Linked DNA regions of Homo sapiens: regions 1 and 2 are each linked to region 3. Evidence: promoter capture Hi-C in 16 types of primary human blood cells and fetal thymus (Javierre and others, 2016). All regions are on one chromosome and are shown on one strand. Each heading gives the region's core, a stretch centred on a gene start or on the middle of the fragment in contact. The rest is flanking DNA. Distances are from core to core; before and after follow the strand shown.

Region 1 (4,452 bases), core at 316-2,815, 670 kb after region 3:
AGAGATCTGTTCTGAGCAGAAATGTGTCAGGGGAGAGAAAAATCTTTCAGCTGGAGAGTGTCTCACCTGCGGAGTATTCCAGTTGGGTTTGTGTGCTCCTCAAGAATAGTGGTATTTTAAGTTTTTTATCTGGTTGGTTGGTTTGGCTCTTGTCACAAAAGAAAAAAAAGTGAGTCTATAAAAGGACAGTAGCACTCTCTCCTTGAAAGTCTAGCTGCTGAGCACAAAGTCTCTGGGTGTAAGACATAGCATTACCTGGGACGACCCTGATCACCAGGATTCCAAGCCCAGAAACACAGGAGCTAAAGTAGAGCATATGTGTCCTGGGATCCATTGCTTTTCCAATACGAATTAGTTTTACCCTACCTCAGAGGTGGGATTATATAAAACACTATTTGATAACTTTGGAAAACCTGTCAGAAAGTGTCCCATATATTCACATGTATTTGTTTATATTTTGTTCTAAAATCTATATTCAACTATGATTCAAGCATGTCTGAAAATGAGGTGAGTTCCCAGGATCTTTGTACATGAAAAACCAAAACGCTTATCCCAGGAGAAGCAAGTAGAGGCCAGTAGCTTGGCTCTAGGACAAAAGCAGCTTCTGGGTGGGAGATATTTTTAACACAGTAGGGCCCAACTTCCACGTCAAGCGGCATTAAGTCAATTTAGGCTGAATCCTAGGAAGAGGAGGCTGCCAACAAAGAACTGGCTTAGCACAGCCCACCTTGAGGTGGAGGCCTGACACAGACCCAGCCCTCCAGTGGCAGTGAGAGCCCTCAACACTGGTTTGGCTAAAGCTGCCAAGGCACAGACACTGATGGCAGTAACAGCAGCACCTGTTTTGTGACATCTTCGGTAAGTGTTGATGTGTGAGCCACTAAGTTTGGTAATGGTAGTGACCAAAGATAATTCCCCAAGGAGCCACAAAAGAGAAAAGGAGAATGGCAACTGTCACATCACAACTAAGAATGGACCCTCAGGGACATCAGAACTATTTAAGGTGGGATTTGAGAGTGGTGGGATGGGGGAAAGGGATGAGTCCTCCAGAGTAGGTCACATTAGAGACGAGTTCCACAATTCGTATGAATTAAAATTATAAAAATTATGTAACTTTGTAATGGTATTAACAAACATTTGCTTTCCTCTGTCTACTCTAAGTCTAGTGAAAGATGGGAAGTAAGGAACAGAGTAGGAAAGTCTGAGTTTGTGGCAGCATGAACTATAAATCTGAGATTCAGCTATCCATATTTACAGAAGACCCAGACAGAATACTTCATGATGAGATCCATCATTCAATTGGCAGAATTTACTGCTCAAACCTTTCAATTAGGAATTGAATCTCCAGCTGTCTTAACTACCGCTGAAACCCCTGCAGCAGCAGTGAGCCACACACATGCCCCAAGCACAGGCCCTCCATTAACCAACTACTTTTTCCTTTGAAATTTTCCCAACAGGATTTTCACTCTTGCTCACTTCTTCATTAATGGATAACAGGGCTTCATCCAAGACCTATGGTTCAGATTTTCTTCTTCATCCTTTTCTTTCTGGATCACTGCTATGTTTGATTTAAAACCATAAGTTAGTGCTGTTAAAACAAATCCTTAAAAATCAAGACTGGATATGTTTGTGATGCTCAAGAAAGTGAGACCATGTAATTTCGCATTGACAGAATAGTGCTGAGGAAACCACTTGCGATCTGAAGTGAAAAGTCTTGAGTTTAAAATCCTACAGTTGTCACCTCCTAGTTGTATAGCCTCAAACAAGCCGCTTATCCTAAATCTTATGTAAAATAGGAATAATAATAATTTCTGCCTCTCAGAAATATGAGGACCAAATGAGATACACTGTCTTTACTGAAAATGCTTATAATTTTCTTCCCTACTTACAAAATCTATCCACCACCACCAACCCTAGCCTGAAAGAGGTAGCCTTACCGACTACATTTCCCTGGCCACAGCTGCTTAAACCCCACATGGATAGCTGAGCAAGGTTAAACCAGTCAGATTCTCTTTCATAGGAATTTAAAACTTGAGATACTGAGTCATTTAGCCCTGGAGAACCAAGCTGGAAGTTAATGGAGACTTGGGGTCCAAGACTACATTTTAGGGTGGCCATGATGGTTGCAAGCAAATGAGCAAGCAGAACAGGTGGTCTGAAGAAAGAAGAATGAGGCAGGCTTGTAGAGAGAAGCAGGCAGATGTCATGTGGACTTCTAAGGAGAGAGATGGTGAGATTAGCCTCTAGTGACTCTCTTAGTTCTCATGAAGCTCAGCTACACGTCCTACATTTGGTGTGCAATTCTTCTACATTCTTATATTATAAACCCACTGTTTGTTAGTTACTTTGAGTTTTTGTTCCTTGCCAAAAATAAAAATAAAATAGGAGAGAGAAATAATTGTAGAACTGTAAAATGAAAGCACTATACAAATACAAGATGTCTTTGATATCCACTTAGGACTTAGCGGCCATTAGGGAATGGAGGAGAGGTAAATGGAGGGAAGCCATTAGGGAATGGAGGAGAGCCACCTTCCAAACCCTGAATGATAACCAACAACCTCATAAATAAGGTATCAGCATTTGGAATCAGCCAGTTGGGCATCCTGCTTGCAAAGTGTTGAAAGAGTCTTCATAAGAGCCAGTATTCATCAGAACTCTTTTGGCAATGTGGCAAAATCCAAATTCAGCCTAACTAAAGAGAAATGGAAATGTGCAGTCCACCTAACTGCTAAGTCCATGGGGGACTTTCATGGGAATTTAAATGTAAATTTCTTATCTGGTTAAAGACCTGCCCTTCTCATATCATATCTTCTATTTTCATTTGTGTTGGCTTCATTCTCTGGCAGGCTGCCCACCATGATGGCAAGGTGGTTCTCAGAAGCTCCAGGCTTATTCTTGCCAGCTTAATAACGTCCACAGAGAGTACCTCTTTGCTTATGGTTTCAGTCAGACACCCAAGGATGAGTGTGACTGGCCTAACCTGGGTCATATGCTTACCCCTAAAGCAATCACTGTAGCCAAGGGAATGAAATGTTGTCTTTGCCAAAGCCTGAGTCATGTGTTCTTCTCTGGAGCGATGGGATGGTATCAGCCTCACCTGATTCATAGAGACTGAGCACTACGGCATGAGAGTTCACTAAAGGAAAAATCAGGGTGCTGCTACCAAAAGAAGGGGAAAGGCATGCAGGGAGAACTTAGATTCTCCCAGCTCTTCCCACCATGAACACCTGAGACTTAAAAATAGAAGTAAACTTTCTTTAGGAAGGAAAACTTTTTATTTATAAATGGGTGGAGTGACCAAAAGACTTGTGGCCCTTGCTCACTACACAAATTTTATCTCTATGGTAGCACAGAGAGACAGCAGTACCTGGGGATGAATCAGTCATTGTCCTCAGGCTCAGCCTCCCCACCCACAGTCTCATCGCCAGCTCACTGAGTCATCCCATGCTCCATCCAACATGTTTTGCTTTTCCCACAGTTTCCTTGAATCTCCTGGGACAGATGGCTGGCTTTTGGAGCTGAGGAAAGGAAGTGGTGTCTTTCAGAAATAAGAGTGCCTCTCCTGTTAGTAAAACTAACAGAAGAGCTGGCTTAAGATGGGAGAGGGTAGGAATTACTTTGCAGTTCCTGGTGCACTTAAAATCATACTCTTTCTTATAAAAAACTGATTCATATGCAACATCTACCTTTCTCTATTTCTGTTTAACAAAAACCCCAAAACCCTTCTCATCCTTTTAGACCTAGATAGCTCAGATGCCTCTTCCTGCTTGTCTTCCCTTTCCTGCTTCCTCTTTCTCACTTACCTGAAAGGCAGAATTTATGACCCCTTTCCTGTTCTCTCCCAGCACAATGTCAATGCCACAACTCCAGTTTGGTATTGTGTGATGGCTGACTGTGTGGCTGCCTGGCTAGTCCATGATGCCTCAAAAAGGTCAGCAATGATGCCACGCTTCTGTTGTATCCTAGCACCTTGTATAAAATCTGCACACCGAAAGTCCTCCATAAATGTTTGTTAAGTGAGCTAATGAGTGAGTGAGTGAGTGAGTGAGTGAAAATGAATAAACCATATTACAGAGCTCAGAGGCAGAAGGAATATGTGCAGGTTCATCTAGGCTGAAGTTTTTTTTGTGTGTCTGTGTGGTGGCGGGTGGGGGAGGTTGTTTGGTTTTTGTTTTTTACCTCCAAGAAGTGACTAAGAGCCTTTTTCTTTTTACATAACTTTGAGTAGCTTCTCTACTGTAGATAATTCCTGATACTTCTCCTGAAAACCAAGCGTGTCCACACTTAAAAGGAAAGATTTCTCGGTAACTGAATACGATGACAGGCCTACGATCTTACAGCTCACATCAGGGCAAATACTACAGCAGCCTAATTGCTGACATATTGCATTCAATGTTTAGATATGATATGAAACATTCATTAAATGCTCTACAATTAACCTGAAAGTAATTT
Region 2 (4,708 bases), core at 777-3,276, 690 kb after region 3:
AAAGTAGATAGTGAAAGCAATCATTTAGTGGGTCGCTAAGTACACCTAACAAAATAACTTTATGAAGTTTTGGCAGTCTTTTTTTTTTTTTTAATTTGCAGATTTAGATCTATGTTCAAGTTTCAGGATAGAAAGCAAAAGCAACAGTACACAATACTTGGGGACAATCACTCCTAAACATCCCTATCCTGGTTACAACTCCTTTCACTAGGTGGAATGACTAGTTTACTTACCCATTCACCTAACTGTGAGCTCCTTGAAGACTACATCCTGTTCACTGTTGTATCCCAGATAGGGTAATGCTGGGCTCACAGTGGTGCTCAATGAATATGGGTGAAAGGATGGAAGGAAGAGAGCCAGGGAAAGAGTAAGGAAAAGAAGAGGGAAGACCAATTTAACCTCCAAAAAACTTTCCTCTTACACATTCACAGGGAAAGTTCCCAGGGGAAGGGTGCAGAGGGATGCTGAGAAAGAACATGGGAAGCTAGACTCCTTATTCTATTAGCAAAAGGAAGCAAGACAGAACTGGAAGGCAGGGCAAGTTTCTGAACCCAACATGGTGCTTTCCATTAAGAAGAAATGGGTCCTGATATATGAGGAGTTTCTAGAAAATTGAATATTTATTTTCCTTTACAAGTAAACACATATGCTGCCAAAAAGTCCTCCAGATTTCTTGGATTCTAGCTATTCCAGTAATAATTTTCAAACACGTCTCTACTATTAGTTTTGCTTAAGACTGCTTCCACAGAAGGTTGTAAATTTACAACGCAAATGAGGCATAAAGAGAAGTGGAAACCAGGACTTCTCTATCCTGTGTGTTTTCTTCTCCTACCTTTTGTCCTACTTGCCTGCTGAATTTGCAGAAAAAGAGCTCGTTATAAATTCTGGCAACAGAACTACAGATTTGTCTTCTTCCACAGAACTGTGTTTTCAGGTCCTGGAGACATAGAACCCTATGAATACAATTGAGTACCTGGTGGGGTAAGGTTTTTTTTAAAAAACAGCAATAAATAGGTGGGAATGAGGAAAGATAATCTTGCAGATCAGAATTATAAAAATGATTTTTCAAACGCAAGAAATAAGATTTAAATCTCCCATAAAACACCTTCCATTTGACACTTCTCTGAAACAAGACTATTTGACTCTGAAAGGCTGGTTATAAGAAACCCATAAATCTTCCAGTAGTCATACAGGAAGTCATAAAGTCATACTTTCAGCACCTTCTAGGGTTGATCTCATTTTACAAATGCCTTCCAGTGATATTCATTATAAGCTTCATATAGTACATCCCCTGCAGTTTTCATTATAAAGTTGGAGATATATTTCACAATTGGTAGATGAGCTCTCCCAACAAACTAAATTAGAAACTTCTGGAGAGTAAAGATTTAGGATGGTGCCCAAAAAAAGCATACTCCTGTCATGGTAGAAGGTGTATATTGCACTACTTGTAAGACTGTGTTGTACTTGTACTGGCTGAGTCCAGTACAGCATCTTGGATACATTTCTCTTCCCTTCACTGAACCAGACTCATGCACTATGAAGAAGCCAATGAGCCCCACCAGTCGATGGCTGAGTTCTTTAAAATGGGGGACCATTTTCTTCTGGCCATTCACTTTTCTCAGAGTCATGGTCTCCAAAACAAAATGAGCATGAATTCCAGATTTTTAAAAAATCTTCACCAACTCTAATATATTCTATAGAATTCCATAGATGCTTTTCTCCACAGGCTCTTTACTTTTTAATATCTAACTCTCCTGTCTACTTAAATCTTTACTGGTTCCATGGATTAAAATCTAATTCATCACATTCAGATGGTTCCTTAGAGTAGAAGCTCAATATTCCAAAATACTCACTTTCCACTTCCTGATTAGCCTTACCCAAACTTTTTATTAAGTGAGGGGGAGAGGGAGAGATAACCTTTCTGAAAGACACTTTACACAGATATGATCAACTTTGGCCCAAAAGAAGAATAATGACATGAGCTCAGCATGTCATAAAAATGTTGATTTCCCTTCACTTATTTTATTATAGTCTTACTCCTCAGGGAGGAGGCTCATAAATGTGTTTAGGGGTTTAGTAAACTGTTAGATATTACTCTGCATCCCACTGAGAGCTTTTCTAAGTTTTTTTTGTTACTCTTGAATTTCTTTTTTATTTTTATTCCTTAATTTTTAATTGGTCTTTAATGCTTTAGAAACATCTGGCTGAAAAGAATACTTTCCTAGACTTCTCCTCTTTTGTATTTAGAAGCCTGGTGTTATACAGTACCTTGAACAGAGGGGAAGAGTAAACCAGCAGCAGAAGAGAAGAGGCTTTGCTCAGACTCCAAAATATCCCACATCAGGGACATTGCAATGGACAGAGGCAAACTTGCCAGGAGGAGGCAGAAGGGGCCATAGAGTGGATACTTTCTGCACCTTCTAGAGTTGATCTCAGGTACATGCACAGCCCATGTCCAAATCAATGGAGGCAGGATAGCAAATGGGAAGGAATCCAGGACAGGGAAGTGGGGGACCCAGATTTCAATTCCAACTTTTCTAGAAACTCAACTGAGGAATCTTAAGCAAGGTCCAGTGCCTCCATTTCATCAGCTGCAAAATGGGTAATTTGGTATAAATCAGCAGTTCTCCTGACATGGGGTCCTTGGAACCTTGGGTGATTGCATAAAGGGGTCTGTGGTGTTGTCTGTAGACTTGAAAAGCAACATATCTCCTATAGATTTGTACTATTTTTCAAACGCCACTGTTGGAGTAATAAAAACAATTCAGTTAAAAGCTTAACTGAACTTATAGTTACATTTGTTCTTTATGTATTTTCTCAATCACATCATTGTAAAAGTAGGCTTATAGTGGATTCTCGGGGCCAAAAAGTCAGGTGCCACTTGCGTAGCTGTTCTCTGAGATTCTGTGACTAAATTTCCAAAAGTTTTTGGGTTTTCTGAAGACAAAAGTGAATCAAACATTTGAATTCTTTCCATTTTTCTCCAGTTGACAAAAGGAAGAGATAACAACTTTCCCAGTGTATCACAGAGCCTAGTAAGGCACAACATAAATTTCATTTGTAGTCAAAGAAGCAGTTAGTTCTGTCTAGGTGGACACAGCCTGGCACCATGGAGCAAATTTTCTTTCCTTGGGAATCACTTCTTTCTTTAGAAGTTTACATAGCTATAGAAACAAGATGAGCAGACACTCATCTTGTTTCTAGGCTACTGCTTTTAGGGGAACATTTCTAAAAACAATAATAAATTAGTATACATTTGGAAGAATTGTATATAATCTTATGGACATGATTACACTTGTAGCCCTTGATTAAGTTTCTATAATTTTTTTTTTTTTTTTTTTTTTTTTTTTGAGACGGAGTCTCGCTCTGTCGCCCAGGCTGGAGGGCAGTGGCGGGATCTCGGCTCACTGCAAGCTCCGCCTCCCGGGTTCACGCCATTCTCCTGCCTCAGCCTCCCAAGTAGCTGGGACTACAGGCGCCCGCCACTACGCCCGGCTAATTTTTTGTATTTTTAGTAGAGACGGGGTTTCACCGTTTTAGCCAGGATGGTCTCGATCTCCTGACCTCGTGATCCGCCCGCCTCGGCCTCCCAAAGTGCTGGGATTACAGGCGTGAGCCACCGCGCCCAGCCTATAATTTTTTTAACATGAAAATTCTGTATTGTCACAGAGAGCAACGAGCCTTGATCTGGTTTAATAAGGGCTATTCTTCCCAATACAGTCATGCATTGCTTAACTACATGATGCTGTGAAATATGTCATTAGGCAATTTCACTGTTGTACAAACATCACAAAGTGTACTTCACAAACCTAGATTGTATAGCCTACTACACACCTAGGCTATATTGCTTCTTGGCTGCAAACCTGTACAGCATGTTACTGTAAATACTGTTGGCAATTGTAACACAATGGTAAGTATTTGTGTATCTAAATATTTCTAAATGTAGAAAGGGTACAGTAAAAAATAAAGTATAAAAGACAAAAACTAGTCCACCTGTGTAGGGAATTTACCATGAATGGAGCTTACAGGGCTGGAAGTTGCTCTGAGTCAATCAGTGAGTGAGCGGTGAGTGAATCTGAAGGCCTGGGACACTACTGTAAACTTTATAAACACCATATATTTAGGCTATACTAAATTTATTTTTAAAATTTTCTTTCTTCTAATTAACCTTAGCTTGCTATAACTTTTTTACTTTATAAACTTCTAAATTTTAAAAAACTTTTTGACTCTTGTAATAACACTTAGCTTAAAACACAAACACATTGTACAGCTGTACAAAGATATTTTCTTTCTTTATATCTTTATTTTAATTTTTTTTCACATTTTAAATATCTATTTTATTTTCGTTAAAAAAATTTGTATTAATGAGTAGTGAATGTACATCATGGTAATTTAATACAGTCATATAATGTATAAAGGTCATATTAGTGTAACTTGGGATATCCATCACTTTTTTAAAATTATACTTCAAGTTGTAGGATACATGTGCAGAACGTGCAGGTGTGTTACATAGGTATACACACGCCTTGGTGGTTTGCTGCACCCATCAACCCGTCATCTACATTAGGTATTTCTCCTAATGCTATCCCTCCCCTAGCCCAAGGGATATCCATTACTTTAAATATTTGTCTTTTCTTTTTTTTTCTTTTATTATTATACTTTAAGTTTTAGGGTACATGTGCACATTGTGCAGGTTAGTAACATACGT
Region 3 (4,068 bases), core at 1,515-4,014:
CAAAAACTAAAATTAAAAAAGGATCATAATTATGAAGGGGGAAAATGTGATATAGGTATTATGTATATAAAAACATAATGAGAAGCACCGTTATTTCTCATGAAGGCAAGTGCTTTCTATGAATCCATTGACAAGGAGGGTGCTGGGCAGCTAGTGATGATAATGGTGATAACCAAGAGGAAAATGTCACAGCAGAGCCAATTCCCTTTTTCCAACTCATTTAAGGACCCACCCACTATTGTGTTTAGACACCCCGTACACCAAAAGGCTAAGGTTGCTTCTGTACAACATATTCAAATAAACCATTCCAAGGTAGACTTCATTTTACTTGTAGAAAGCAACATTTTGCAGATGAGTTTTGTTTGGTTTGTCTCCGTCAATCAATTTTAAGCCAAATGTATAAACCATTTTAACAAGAGATGAATCATGAGGCACCTGAGAAGTAATACAAATATACCAGCTACAATGAATTTATTTAACCTTCACAGCAGTAGTTACTGTTACTATCCTGCTTTAACAGAGGAAGAAACTAAAGTGCAAGGGGTTTCGAGGAATTTGTCCAAGATGCATACAGCTAAGAATTGGCAGAGGAGGGATTTGAACTCACCTTGGCTGATGCCAAATCCAAGTACTTGATCATTAGGCTGTACCACCTCCCCAGTAATGTTACACAGGTAAAAATTAATCACGTGCCTAGTGTGTGCTGGGAACTGTGTTAAGCCCTTTATATACATTACCATGTTAACTTTGATAGTTGAGACATTTGGACACAGGTAAGAGGGATAACAAAAGAACCACTAGGTCGACTGTTCTATGTGTCTTTGGCATAATACCCTAGCTTGGATGAAATCTCTGTGTTACTTGAAATTGCAAGATTTTAGCAAAATCAGTTATTTTATGATTTCTTCCTTGCAGAGGTGGAATGGTGCAAACCAGTGAGCAGTATGAATTTGTGCACCATGCTCTGTGCCTGTATGAGAGCAGACTTTCAGCAGAGACTGTCCAGTGAGTCATTGAAGACTTGTCAGACCATCAATCTCTTGGGGTGATTAATCAAATTACCCACCCAAGGCTTCTAGAAGGAGCTTCCTGCAATGGAAGGAAGGAGAAGCTCTGAAGCCCATGTATGGCATGGATTGTGGAAGACTGGGCAACATATTTAAGATTTCCAGCTCCTTGTGTATATGAATGCATTTGTAAGCATCCCCCAAATTATTCTGAAGGTTTTTTGATGATGGAGGTATGATAGGTTTATCACACAGCCTAAGGCAGATTTTGTTTTGTCTGTACTGACTCTATCTGCCACACAGAATGTATGTATGTAATATTCAGTAATAAATGTCATCAGGTGATGACTGGATGAGCTGCTGAAGACATTCGTATTATGTGTTAGATGCTTTAATGTTTGCAAAATCTGTCTTGTGAATGGACTGTCAGCTGTTAAACTGTTCCTGTTTTGAAGTGCTATTACCTTTCTCAGTTACCAGAATCTTGCTGCTAAAGTTGCAAGTGATTGATAATGGATTTTTAACAGAGAAGTCTTTGTTTTTGAAAAACAAAAATCAAAAACAGTAACTATTTTATATGGAAATGTGTCTTGATAATATTACCTATTAAATGTGTATTTATAGTCCCTCCTATCAAACAATTACAGAGCACAATGATTGTCATTGGGTATATATGTATTTACTCTCTATTATTGGGCATAAAGGTGGCTTCTGCTCCAGAACTCTATCCACTGTATTTCCACATCGTGAGTCATTTTACTTTAAAAGGGAAAAACAAATTTGTAGCAACTCTGAAGTATCAAGAGTTTTAACTACTTGTCTCTCTTTTGCTAAGAAGGGATTTTTGAATATGCTATCTACCTGGAATCTCTCTCTCAACAAAAGGTATATGCCTTCAGGAATGATATAATCTGTCCCATTTTCGAGGCTCCTTATAAGGACATTTCCATGTATGTCCTTACATTTCTGAAAGCTTTCAATCTTCAAGAGACAAAAAAAATTAAAATAACTACCCTCAGCAAACACTAGCTGTTCTGCTCATATATGAATTTTTAATGCAGCAATGTTGACTTTGTTTCATACTGCCAATAAACTCTTAATACTAAATACTGAGTAAAGCATATTCTTTTTTTTTTTTCTATTTGGAAAGACGCCATCCTCTGTTTGGGGAAGACCAAAGTAGATAATGTGATGGGTTTAATTTTAGTGTCTGCATCTCCCCAGTGAAGATGACGATCTCAAAATGTAATATTGTCATCACTTGGGAGATAATGATCTAGAAGTGCCATCATTATGTGGTTTTCCTCAATAGACTCGCAGCATATCATTATACAAACAGTACATGTTTATGTCTTTATATCACTTGTCATAGACCCTCATCAATTACATGGCTTATGTTTATTCAGCAGAATCACATCACCTGAAGAGATGTAATGTTTCAGGAACATTCAATTATCTGAGATTTCAATTCCTTTCTTTCTTCTTGAGGTTAAGAAGCAGTCACATGCCAAAGGAAAGGTAGGTGAGGTCTTAACGAGATTTACTCTGCTCTTGAAGGCTGGAATATTTTCTACATTAAAAAAAAGAGGTAATCATAATCCCTTCTTTCTAAGGAAACAGACAAAAGGACACTGGTGTAAAACTTCCCCAAACAATTCAATAGGAGGAAGTGCTCGTCACTGACTTTTCCCCCCACCATGAAGGCACATTTCCTTCCTAGTCTTTGCTTCTCTTATCTGGGAGAATTTTTTTTTTCCCCAAGCGAAGCATGAACAGTTGCTAAGTGGAAAATGGAGGCTGAATTTTACATGGTGATTCTTACCTGCTTGATCTTCAGGAACTCAGGTGAGTGGGTCTGCCTCAGTGTCCTGAGGCATTTCTTCAAGATCTAGCCAAGGAGTCCCTGGTCTTTGAAGTGTCTGAAATAAGGTAGAAGGGGCCAGGTCTCCATGGCAGTTTAGCCAAAGACGATGAAAAGCAGGAATAAAAGGAGCCAGCTATGCCCATACTGTTGAGATTTCTCTCCAAAAGAAAATAAATGCTCTCCTCTCATCCTCCAAATGCTTCAGGCAGCCCCTGAAATGATACATTTAGAGCAGAGCGTAAAGAACCCCGAGGAAAAGTTTGTATTATTATATAACAGTCTGTGGCTTTCCCCAAGCCTTTTTCCGACCCGGTTATAGTTTTATTTTCTTTTGTGTTGAAGAAAGAAAATTGAAGGAATATGATTAAAGGGGGTGAGGAAATGTAGTGTGTTTTATTTGGAAGTTGTCATTTGGGAGGGCTGAACATTTTCATGAGCGAGCTGGGCAATTTAAGTAAAACCTCATTGAAAATGGTTTCTGAGCCAGAGTATCTTGCTCTTTAATACTGATGTTTAGCAATTTGATGTTTAATTTTCTTACACTGGCACATGATGATTTTTAGAAAATCTATTCGTATTTGAGAGAAAACTGTAGATATTGTCATAAAATAGAGAAATGCTCCTCTCCACGACTAAAGGAAATTTAGTTTGTGATAATCAATACTTTCATTGGCTGCAATTAGCTAGGAGGTTGTGCTTGGAGAAGTGGGAAAATTTGTTTTATTTTTTGATAAATGTATGCAATTTTAAAAAATTGTTATTCAAACTATGAAATTTGTATATAAATACTGCAATGTGAATTTAAAGACTGGAAAAGGGGGTGCTTTTTTAAGGTAAGGGAGGAAGCTTATATCGAATATGTCAAATGGTTAAAAAGGGAGCTGAGCATTTCATAACTTCAGCATATCTAACTAATTGGGCTAAAATATACTATATACTTTGGATGGTTTTGTTTCTTTCCAAGCTTCCTTTCATTTTCCAATAAGAGGTGTGCTTTTTTCCCCTAAAGCATGTGAAAATTAAAAAAAAAAAAAAGATGGGGAGTTAAGTGTAACATATTGACATTTTATATCGTCAGCTTTGGAATTTTAAATCACATGTGTTAAATATGAGAATGTTCACTTGAAATGATAGAAATAACAAAATATAAGTAAAACTAGTGATTTTATTTAGCTCATTTGTGGGTGGGTTCTTCCG

Evidence for each region. The method cuts DNA at HindIII sites, captures the fragments that hold promoters and counts their contacts. A CHiCAGO score of 5 or more calls a contact.
Region 1: a fragment that was not itself captured here is called in contact with the fragment with the promoter of PTPRB in region 3 in 1 of 17 cell types (naive CD8 T cells); the score reaches 6.4 in naive CD8 T cells.
Region 2: a fragment that was not itself captured here is called in contact with the fragment with the promoter of PTPRB in region 3 in 5 of 17 cell types (naive CD4 T cells, naive CD8 T cells, activated CD4 T cells and 2 more); the score reaches 7.2 in naive CD4 T cells.

Annotation. Positions count from the first base shown.
Region 1 is chr12:69,965,594-69,970,045 of GRCh38, reverse strand. No RefSeq gene overlaps it. Among named protein-coding and RNA genes, the nearest start is that of MYRFL, 140 kb to the right of the region's middle. RefSeq lists a silencer at 2,971-3,171. The HindIII fragment of the contact is 8,608 bases long and covers 1-4,452 here.
Region 2 is chr12:69,944,629-69,949,336 of GRCh38, reverse strand. The region is part of intron 19 of MYRFL (myelin regulatory factor like); the gene reads right to left. Among named protein-coding and RNA genes, the nearest start is that of MYRFL, 120 kb to the right of the region's middle. The HindIII fragment of the contact is 1,502 bases long and covers 1,276-2,777 here.
Region 3 is chr12:70,636,125-70,640,192 of GRCh38, reverse strand. PTPRB (protein tyrosine phosphatase receptor type B) reads left to right here and starts at 2,764. Exons shown (of 34, transcript NM_001109754.4): 1 at 2,764-2,852. The coding sequence starts at 2,798. PTPRR (protein tyrosine phosphatase receptor type R) reads left to right here. Exons shown (of 14, transcript NM_002849.4): 14 at 916-2,114. The coding sequence ends at 1,009. The HindIII fragment of the contact is 1,737 bases long and covers 1,983-3,719 here.